2 separate regions of the Homo sapiens genome follow, and region 2 is linked to region 1. Evidence: promoter capture Hi-C in 16 types of primary human blood cells and fetal thymus (Javierre and others, 2016). All regions are on one chromosome and are shown on one strand. The core of a region is centred on a gene start or on the middle of the fragment in contact, and the rest is flanking DNA. Distances in the headings are between cores, read along the strand shown.

The links. Contacts are between HindIII fragments. The CHiCAGO score rates a contact against its expected background, and 5 or more counts as called.
Region 2: a fragment that was not itself captured here is called in contact with the fragment with the promoter of TIGD7 in region 1 in 1 of 17 cell types (erythroblasts); the score reaches 5.9 in erythroblasts.

What each region holds. Positions count from the first base shown.
Region 1 is chr16:3,303,423-3,307,926 of GRCh38, reverse strand. It overlaps TIGD7 (tigger transposable element derived 7), which reads left to right and starts at 2,497. Exons shown (of 2, transcript NM_033208.4): 1 at 2,497-2,715. It overlaps ZNF75A (zinc finger protein 75A), which reads right to left and starts at 2,430. Exons shown (of 7, transcript NM_001302109.2): 1 at 2,284-2,430. RefSeq lists an enhancer at 2,407-2,936. The HindIII fragment of the contact is 19,814 bases long and covers 1-4,504 here.
Region 2 is chr16:3,376,383-3,380,886 of GRCh38, reverse strand. All of the region lies in intron 1 of LOC105371059 (a long non-coding RNA gene), which reads right to left. Among named protein-coding and RNA genes, the nearest start is that of ZSCAN32, 22 kb to the left of the region's middle. The HindIII fragment of the contact is 2,986 bases long and covers 1,252-4,237 here.

The sequences.
Region 1 (4,504 bases), core at 1,248-3,747:
ACAGATCATCCCAGTCTGTCTCTAGTAAGGGGAGTACAACTTTTATGACCCTTCATCCTCTTGTGAAGATGGAAGCCTTCACTTTAAAAATATTTTAGGCCAGGTGCAGTGGCTCATGCCTGCATTCCCAGCACTTTTGGAGACCGAGGTGGGAGGATCACTTGAGCCAGGAGTTTCAGACCAGCCTGAGCAACATAGCGAGACCCCGTCTCTACAAAACACAAAATTTGAAGAAAAAAAAAAAAAATAGCCAGGATGGTAGAGCACACCAGTAGTTCTAGCTCAGGAGGCTGAGGTGGGAGAGTCGCCTGAGCCCAGGAATTCAAGGTTGCAGTGAGCCATGACCTCATCACTGCACTCCAGCCTGGGAGTTAGAGCAAGACTTTGTCTCTAATTTAAAAACTAAAAATAAAGGCACCTTAAAAAACAACATTTTAGATTTTCCATTGTAGGAATACTGGCAAAAGAGCTGAGACGGTGAGATCAAAATACAGTAGTATCCCTTCTCCAAGGGGGGTAAGTTCCAGTACATTCTGTGAATACCTAAAACCCCCAACAGCATCTAACTGCATTATACTATTTTCTCTATGTATACATAGCTATGATACCTTAATTTATAAATTAGGTACAATAAGAGATTAACAATAAAACACTGTAGTAAGAGTTATTTAAAACTGGCGGTGCGCCGTGGCTCATGCCTGTAATCCCAGCACTTTGGGAGGCCTGACGTGGGTGGATCACCTGAGACCAGGACTTCAAGACCAGCCTGGCCAACATGGTGAAACCTTCTTTATTGTAAACACAAAAATTAGCCAGGTGTGGTAGTGCGCGCCTGTAGTCCCAGCTACCCAGGAGGCTGAGGCAGGAAAATTGTTTGAACCCGGGAGGTGAAGGCTGCAGTGAGCTCAGACTGTGCCACGGCACTCCAGCCAGGGCAGCAAAACGAGATTCCATCTCCAAAAAAAAAAAAAAAAGTTATTTAAAACTTATGAACTGTTTATTTCTGGAGTTTTCCATTTAATATTTTTTGGATGGCAGTTGACAGCGGGTAAGTGAAACCCAGATACAGTGGGGGGAGGGGGTACTACAGAAAGTAAAAAAGTAGCCTATTTTCAGACAATGTCTCCCAAGTAAGCAACAAGATGCTCATCATTCTTTGCAACACACATAAAGGGTGCCATGCAGATGATTTATACGAATTTTGTTTTTTTTTTTGAGATGGAGTCTCGCCCTGTCACCCAGGCTGGAGTGCAGTGGCGTGATCTCAGCTCACTGCAACTTCCACCTCCCCGGTTGAAGCCATTCTCCTGCCTCAGCCTCCCGACTAGCTGGGATTACAGGCGCGTGCCACCATGCCCGGCTAATTTTTGTGTTTTTAGTAGAGACAGGGTTTCACCATCTTGGCCAGGGTGGTCTCGATCTCCTGACCTCGTGATCCACCCATCTTGGCCTCCCAAAGTGCTGGGATTACAGGCGTCAAACACCGCGCCAGGCCTATATGAATTTTTAACTGTGCTTACTTGATCTGGAGAAAATTACAGCTGACCTCTGTTTACAAAATATCAACTTGTAAAAAAGGATATTTTATTTACAAAATATCAAGTCGTATTTTCTTTCTGTCGCTGATGTTTATGAAATATCAACTCCAACAGGAGTTGGTGACGATGAAAGTGAAACTTTCTGCTGACTTTGTATTTCTCCAAAGGTCATTTAGACTTCTAAGGGGGGCTGAGGAGAGCCGTGAGCCTCACTTTTCCTGAAGTGAGCCAGCAGAAACGGCACCGAAATTCTGCCCAGGATGCCACCGGTATTCAAAGAAGTGGCCAGCTCCTTGCTGCCCACCCCGGTTCCAGAAGCAAAGAGACACTTCCTATGTTTTTGCATCAGTAGAAGCTGCTAGCCCTGAGGCTCAACCGACCGCATGACATCGGCCGGACACGGAAATGCCGGCGGAGGCGGGAAAGAGTCTGCGGGCGCAGCTGCAGGCACTGCTGCCCGCCAGCACTCGGATTCGCCACAGCCTGTGTCTGCGACAGGCGTGCCCGTGGGCACTGGGCAAGCGGGCAGTGTCCCAGCGAGCTTCAGCCGCGCCTCTGGGATACAGCTGCGAAAAGCGGGGAGAGAATGGTTTCTCGTGCCCGACGGTGGCCCCGCCTCAGGCTCCAGCCGCGCGGCCCGGAAGCGCCGCGGCCACCGCCTACGGAAAATGGCTGCCTCCCTGCGGCCGCCGCCGCTCCAGCGGCTCCAGGGTCGAAGCCATAGGGGAAGCCGCTTCTCGGTTACCTCGGCCAGCTTGGCTTCCGTGGAGGCCGCTCCTCGCTTTCTGAGGCTCAAACGCAAGCCACCGCCCGAAAGGCCGCCGATCTGAGGAGCGCAACCGCCAGCCCACCGCTGGCCTACCGCAGCCCTGTCCAGGTACAGAGCCAGAGCGCCGGCCGGAAGTGGAAGTGACGCTTTCCGAGGGTGGCGCAGGCCCGCCCTCTGGCTAAGGCGCCTGAGCCCGGCCTACTTCCTCGCCAGAGAAACTGCTGTCTTCCCCGGCGGTAGGGAAGGGTTAATGCCACCGAGTATCCAGACCCGCTGAAGCCTAGAGGGCCTTGTACCGGCTCACCGCGTGGCTGTCGCTGTCTCGTGTCCCCAGTGGGGGAGGCGTCGCACTGCCGCGTCTGTTCTGCGTGGCTGTCGGGCGGCGTTTGGTCCCGGGAGCCTCGCCGGGTAAGGGTCGCCTCCCAGCTGCGCGCGCCGCGTTCTCGGGCTTCCCGCGGCCCGGCCGGCCGTGCTCGAGCTGTTGCTGGGCTCGTCGCCGCCTCCTCGAGGAAGAGGCATTTTGTCCGGGTCGGGCCACTCGCTAGGTCAGAAACAGCGGCCCCCCGAGGGTTTTGTACCGTTTTCTAGGTCTCGTGACGCATTCCCCACAACTATTTTTTCTTGAGGTAGGTTTGAACCTGTGAAATAGGTTCTTTTTCTATCTCTCCTTGACAGAGAAACGGAGACCTAAGAAGTGACTTGCTCAGGGTCACATAGCTCAGCAGTGGCGGCCGCTAATCGGAAATAGCTCTCCTGTTGTGGTATCCTCTGCGTTTTCCACTCCAGTATTCTTCCCTGGAAAATGGGAACCTTGTTTTCATCTTATATCTCATGCAGCGCCTAACATAGTCACCTGGTAAGATAGGCATTCCACACATATTTACTGAATCATAGTTATAAGAATCTGAGTGTTTTGGGTGTTCAGTGATCTCTGAATTAATCCGTTTTTGTAATGTCAGTCTGTACCAGTTGAGGGATTATTTAATAAGTCCAGTATGAGTGGTTTCGGAATTACCAGTTTTTGTAACGTCAGCTTATACCAGTCAAGGGACTATTTATTAAGTCAGCTATGTGTAGCCAATATTGCAGAGTTGAGTAAGAAGTCTTTGTCCTTAAGCAATCTCTTGAAAGGACTGAGCAATTTCGTGAATATCAGTAACACAAGGGTAAGAATAGGACATAAACTGAATGCTGTGAGAACTCCAAGAAAATCCAAGTTGATTTGGGGTTGGGGGAAATTATAAAAGACCTTGAGGGATTTTGTCCACAGCAGGGAATGGAGACACTTTCCAGGCAGAGGGAAGGGTAGGAGTAAAGGCTTTAAAAGCTGGAAACATTAGACTGTGAGATCTTAGGTACGTTTTTACTGAGTTGGGCTGCATTTAGAGGAAGAGTTTTAAAAGTTAGAAAACGAGTTTATGTGGCACTTATACTGGAGTCCTTTGAATGGGAATGAAAAGAGTGCATTTAAGAAAGTAAATCCTGGCCGGGCGCGGTGGCTTACGCCTGTAATCCCAGCACTTTGGGAGGCCGAGGCGGGCGGATCATGAGGTCAGGAGATCGAGACCATCCTGGCTAACATGGTGAAACCCCGTCTCTACTAAAAAATACAAAAAAAAATTAGCCGGGCGTGGTGGTGGGCGCCTGTAGTCCCAGCTACTCGGGAGGCTGAGGCAGGAGAATGGCGTGAACCCGGGAGGCGGAGCTTGCAGTGAGCCGAGTTCACGCCACTGCATTCCAGCCTGGGCGACAGAGCGAGACTCCGTCGCAAAAAACAAAACAAAACAATACAAAAAAGTAAATCCTGGAGCACCATTTGAGCGTTTTGGACTGAGCTGCTTTCTATGGCAGTTCATCTAAGGTAAGTTTAAGGTGAGAATGAAGATGAGAGGCCATTACCAGGCCATTATGCTATTTTTGCTTTTGGATGGGATGGTATGTAACTCCTCTTAGGCATAGATCTTGATCCTTTTTAAGTGAGAGAGAAAGATAAACAGATTTAATAATGAGCATCTGCCTAAGTCACTTGAATTTGTGTCTAAGTAGGTTCATTTCCTTAAAATCTCAGCCAGGTTGGGACTTCATTTCTTCAGCAGTAAATATTCTCAGTCTATCAGAACCAGTGGACAGTAGCGCCATCAGCATTAAGATTCTCATCACCTGGCCCAATGCTGAATATATAATTAGAATTTATTAA
Region 2 (4,504 bases), core at 1,495-3,994, 73 kb before region 1:
GCATGTTTATATGAAATTAAATGAGTGCTGGCAGCGAGCTTCACTTTTTTTCTAAGTGAGAAAAGTTAAATATGAGCAAAGGAGAATGTGCTTTCTACCTCAAATCCAGAAGAAAAAGAATTTAAGGGGACGAAGGAGAAGCAAAGGCAGAAGAGGAGAATATACTTTTGTTTCTTTATTGAGCTCTGCCTGGGCCACTGCTTCTCTCTGCATTTGCTGTCCTCGACCATGCCCCTAAGGAGAAGCTCTGCAGGACAGCTCCGAAAGTCACATATTTCACAGCCTCTGCTCAACTCAGAAAAAAACATCTTCAAAGGGCCTCGACAAAGAGGTGGGCTGGAATGTGACCTATTTGGGACACCATGACTTCATTGGTGATTCATGGTGGAGAAGAGGAGACAGGAGTGGACTAGTTACTGATGGGCTTTGGATTATCAGCTCAGAGAAGGTGGCTGGATAAATGAGGAGAGCCAGTGCAAGTCAACGGAAGAGATAAGGAAAGTGAGACACTTCGGGGCCTCACTAGTAGGCTCCTCCCATTCCTGGGCCTACCGTGGCCAGGTAAATGGGGGTACAACTGTTGAACTCCTTGCATGTTTAGGTTGCCTCTGCCCTCCAGGCTGCTTTGTCCTCTAGTCTGCTGGGCAGAAAAATGAAAACAAGTACCGTTAGAGTCTCCAATCCATGCCTGTCAGCCACTCTAGATGACCTGAAGTAGACAGGTAAGGGTTGGGAGAATCCATTCATTTATTCCGGAAACATGTGATTGCCTATAATATATGAGGTACTGGAGCCAAATATAAAGCAGTGAACAGGGCCAGGGGTGGTGGCTCACACCTGTCATCCCAGCACTTTGGGAGGCTGAGGTGGGCCGATCGCTTGAGCTCAGAAGTTTGAGACCAGCCTGGGCAACATGGCAAAGCCCCATCTCTACAAAAAAATATAAAAAATTAGCCTGGAGTGGTGGTACGTGCTTGCAGCTATTCGAAAGGCTGAGGTGGGAGGATGGCTTGAGCCCAGGAGGCAGAGGTTACAGTAAGCCAAGATCACACCACTGCACTCCAGCGTGCAAGATTCCCCATGTTAAGCGGAAAAAAAAAGCAGTGAACAAAGCTTCTTCCAGAAGCAGCCTCATTGGACTCTTCAGAGGTATCAGCACCAGTCAGGCAACACTGCCCAGCTCCCAGCTCCCAACCCCCAGCACCCTCGCCAAATCCAAGTCCCAGCTCTGCGGGGCCTCTCTTCCAAGCTTCCAAGGTCTGGTAAACCCAACCCTTTCTCTATCCAGACCCCATGTGTGGTAGCTGTTTCCTACAGTTACTATCTCTGTCACTGCAGTTTTCCCTTTACACTTTTTTTTTCAATTCTACCACACCCACTTTACAAATTCTTTACATTAAGTCCCCTCTTTGAAACATCAAGAATGGTTTCTGTTTTCCTGACTGGACTTTATTATCACATGTGATGCTAAGAGTTTGGATTTTATGATAAGTATAATGGGAAGCCACTGAATAATTAGGCAGGGAAAGACACAATTCTCTTATTCTGGCTGCTGTGTGGAGAATAGGTCAGAAGAGCTAAAAGTGGTAGCAAGGGGCAGGGCGCGGTGGCTCACGCCTGTAATCCCAGCACTTGGGGAGGCTGAGGCGGGCGGATCATGAGGTCAGGAGATCGATACCACCCTGGCTAACAGGGTGAAACCTGTCTCTACTAAAAATACAAAAAGTTAGCTGGGCATGGTGGTGGGTGCCTGTAGTCCCAGCTACTCGGGAGGCTGAGGCAGGAGAATGGCGTGAACCCGGGAGGCAGAGCTTGCGGTGAGCCGAGATCAGGTCACTATACTCCAGCCTGGGCAAAAGAGTGAGACTCCATCTCAAAAAAAAAAAAAAAAAAAGTGCTAGCAAAGAGACCAGGTAAGACTTTCTTAGCTGTGAGGTCTAGAAACTCAGTTGTCTAGTCTAGTGATGGCAGTGGATACAGAAAAAAGTGGATGGGTTTTGTACATTTTGGGCGCATAGTCAACATAATGTAGCGGTGATAGATTAGTTATGGAGGTGAAGGAGAGAGTTCTCATCTATGTCTATTACTAGGGATTTCCTATTATTATCTGGGTCAATGGGTGAAACTCAAATAAGTGGAGGTCAGAGAGGGAAAAGTAACTCACAGAAAGAAAGGAGAGATACAACCCCACATGGAAAGCAGGCCCTCTAAGTGGTATCTTTGAGAGGGAGAGTAGATTATCATCTCTCTTCTAGAAATGGAAATACTTCTTAGAGGGAGGAAGGATGGGCACACAACAGTCTTTGGCTCAATCCACAGTAAAGACAGAATTATAATCCAGGTTTCCCAGGGTGCAGAGGGCTCTCTTCTTACTAAGTCTTTTATGTAACTCTTCTAGGAGGGAATGTTTACTACCACTTAGCTTTTGGGCTGGGTCTTGGGGGCTAGGAGTCCAGCCAGGTTGGCTCCTCAATGTCCTCTGGTCCATTTCTTCATGGAGGGGACAGGGCTTTGGCACATGGCTGCTGCTCTCCTTGTGACGTTCATCTGGAGACACTTCAACTTGCTGTGACACAGCTCTGGATGTGCAAATAACCCAGCTCCTCAGGCTGCACAGCTATTGTTTTGGGCACCTTGCATTATCAGTACCAGGTTAGGTATTTTCACTAAACTGCTGTTTATCAAGGATGGTGAGGAAGGTCTTTGTTTCTTCAGCACCCTAGTGCATACCTTCCACCAGGAGGGTACACTCAGAATGACAGTTCAGGGCTGTTTCTCTCAGTCAATTGACCACAGGCCCTCACTATTTGACTTTCCATTGCTTAACAAGCCCAATACAACACTAACCACTTGAGAATGTATTGGAAGTATGTTGTACAAAAGGCAAGACCCCAAGTCTACAGATTTCCTCTTATGTCTAATACTACCCTCCAGGATTGGTGCAGCCCTTCAGAGGCCCATTAAAAAACCAGGTCATTCCCTGGTAAGTTACACAGTGGGCTCTCTACACTGTTTCCATACCTCCTTCCCTCACTGAAACATTTTAACTAGTTGATATAATTTTTTTTCAATTGACACTATTCCTTTTTTCCAAAGATTCCTAACCAGTCCCTGTAGACTGGATCAATCGTCTCGCTACAACCCAGAGAAGTTGGGCAGAGCCTACTGGCCGTCACTGGTCCATAGTTCTACCATGGCTCCTCTCAGCTGACAGTGGCTGTCAGACGGTCAGAGCCAAACAAGAGCTGGGCGCCTCATTCACCTTTCCTCTGGCTACCTCTCTGCTGCTTCTCTTGTGAGTTCAGTCTGGAAACAGCCCAGAACTTCTGGGATCCTGGCACAAAAACGCACCCATTTCATAGCTGACTTCATCACAGGCAGAATCCTTGGCTCCTCACAGTCCTGGAAATAGACTCAACCGTAACTTGGTTTCTGGGTAGAGACCAAGAGAAGGACTGAGTGTTCTTCACTTACAGAGAATATGGGACTCTAGCAAGCGGCCCCACCATTCCCCATCGTAGTCAGCCTGAAAGCTGTGAACTTGGTGTTGACCTGTGTGGCATCTGGAGGAAGCTGTACTCCTGCAGCAGCTCAGCCACTACCCTTACAGTTGGCCATTCCAGGAGCAAGTCTGGAGTTTTTCATAGATTTAAGATTTATGGAGATTTGTAAGTAAAGTCTTGGTTTCCTGGTAGCCCCAATTCATACCTGCCCTCCTAGGTTAGGTGACTTGCACAGTGACTAAATGAAAGAGCTGGACATTTTCCCCTCATCTGTAATTTCTCTTAAATGAGGATTCCTAGATGCCACCACCAGAGATTCTGATTTGTCAGTCTGGGGCAGTTTTCCAAGTGCTTTTGTGTGCTTATGCCTGTTTGAGAGACATGAACCCCTTTCTTAGAGAGAGAGGACACTGGGGCCTAAGGTCAGTATCAGACAACGAATGAACCTCCAGCTCTGCAGATTCCAACAAAAAGTGTTAGTATGGTGCTGTAGTGAGGGCTTTGGAGTGAGACAAACCGGGTTTAACTTCTAATTTTGTTATAACCTATTGCTGTGTGTCTTTGGACACTTACGTAAGTAGGTAAGTAAGTACACAAGTACTTAACCTTTCTGAGCCCAGCCTCTTCATCTTACAGTCAGTGATGACAATGTCTACCTCTCAGAGGGGTTTAAAGGGTTAAGTGCTTTCATGTGTGGAAGCCATTTACATGTAACCAACCACACTGTAAAAGCTTCACATATGCCAGCTATTACTGGATATGTCTTGAGTTTTACCAGGCAGGATAAACAAGCGCCAAACAACCTCCAACAGGCATTACTGATGGCTACATCTACAACTCTCCCAACACCATATTCTTCAGTCGGTCAGTGAGTTCATTTGTTCATTAAATACAGTATGATAAAACTGATATTTATTTTGCCCAGGTATGTTTATAATGTGCCAGGCAAAGAGAGATATGGAAGACCTGGTCACTGCCCCAAGGGAGAGGAGCTAGATTTT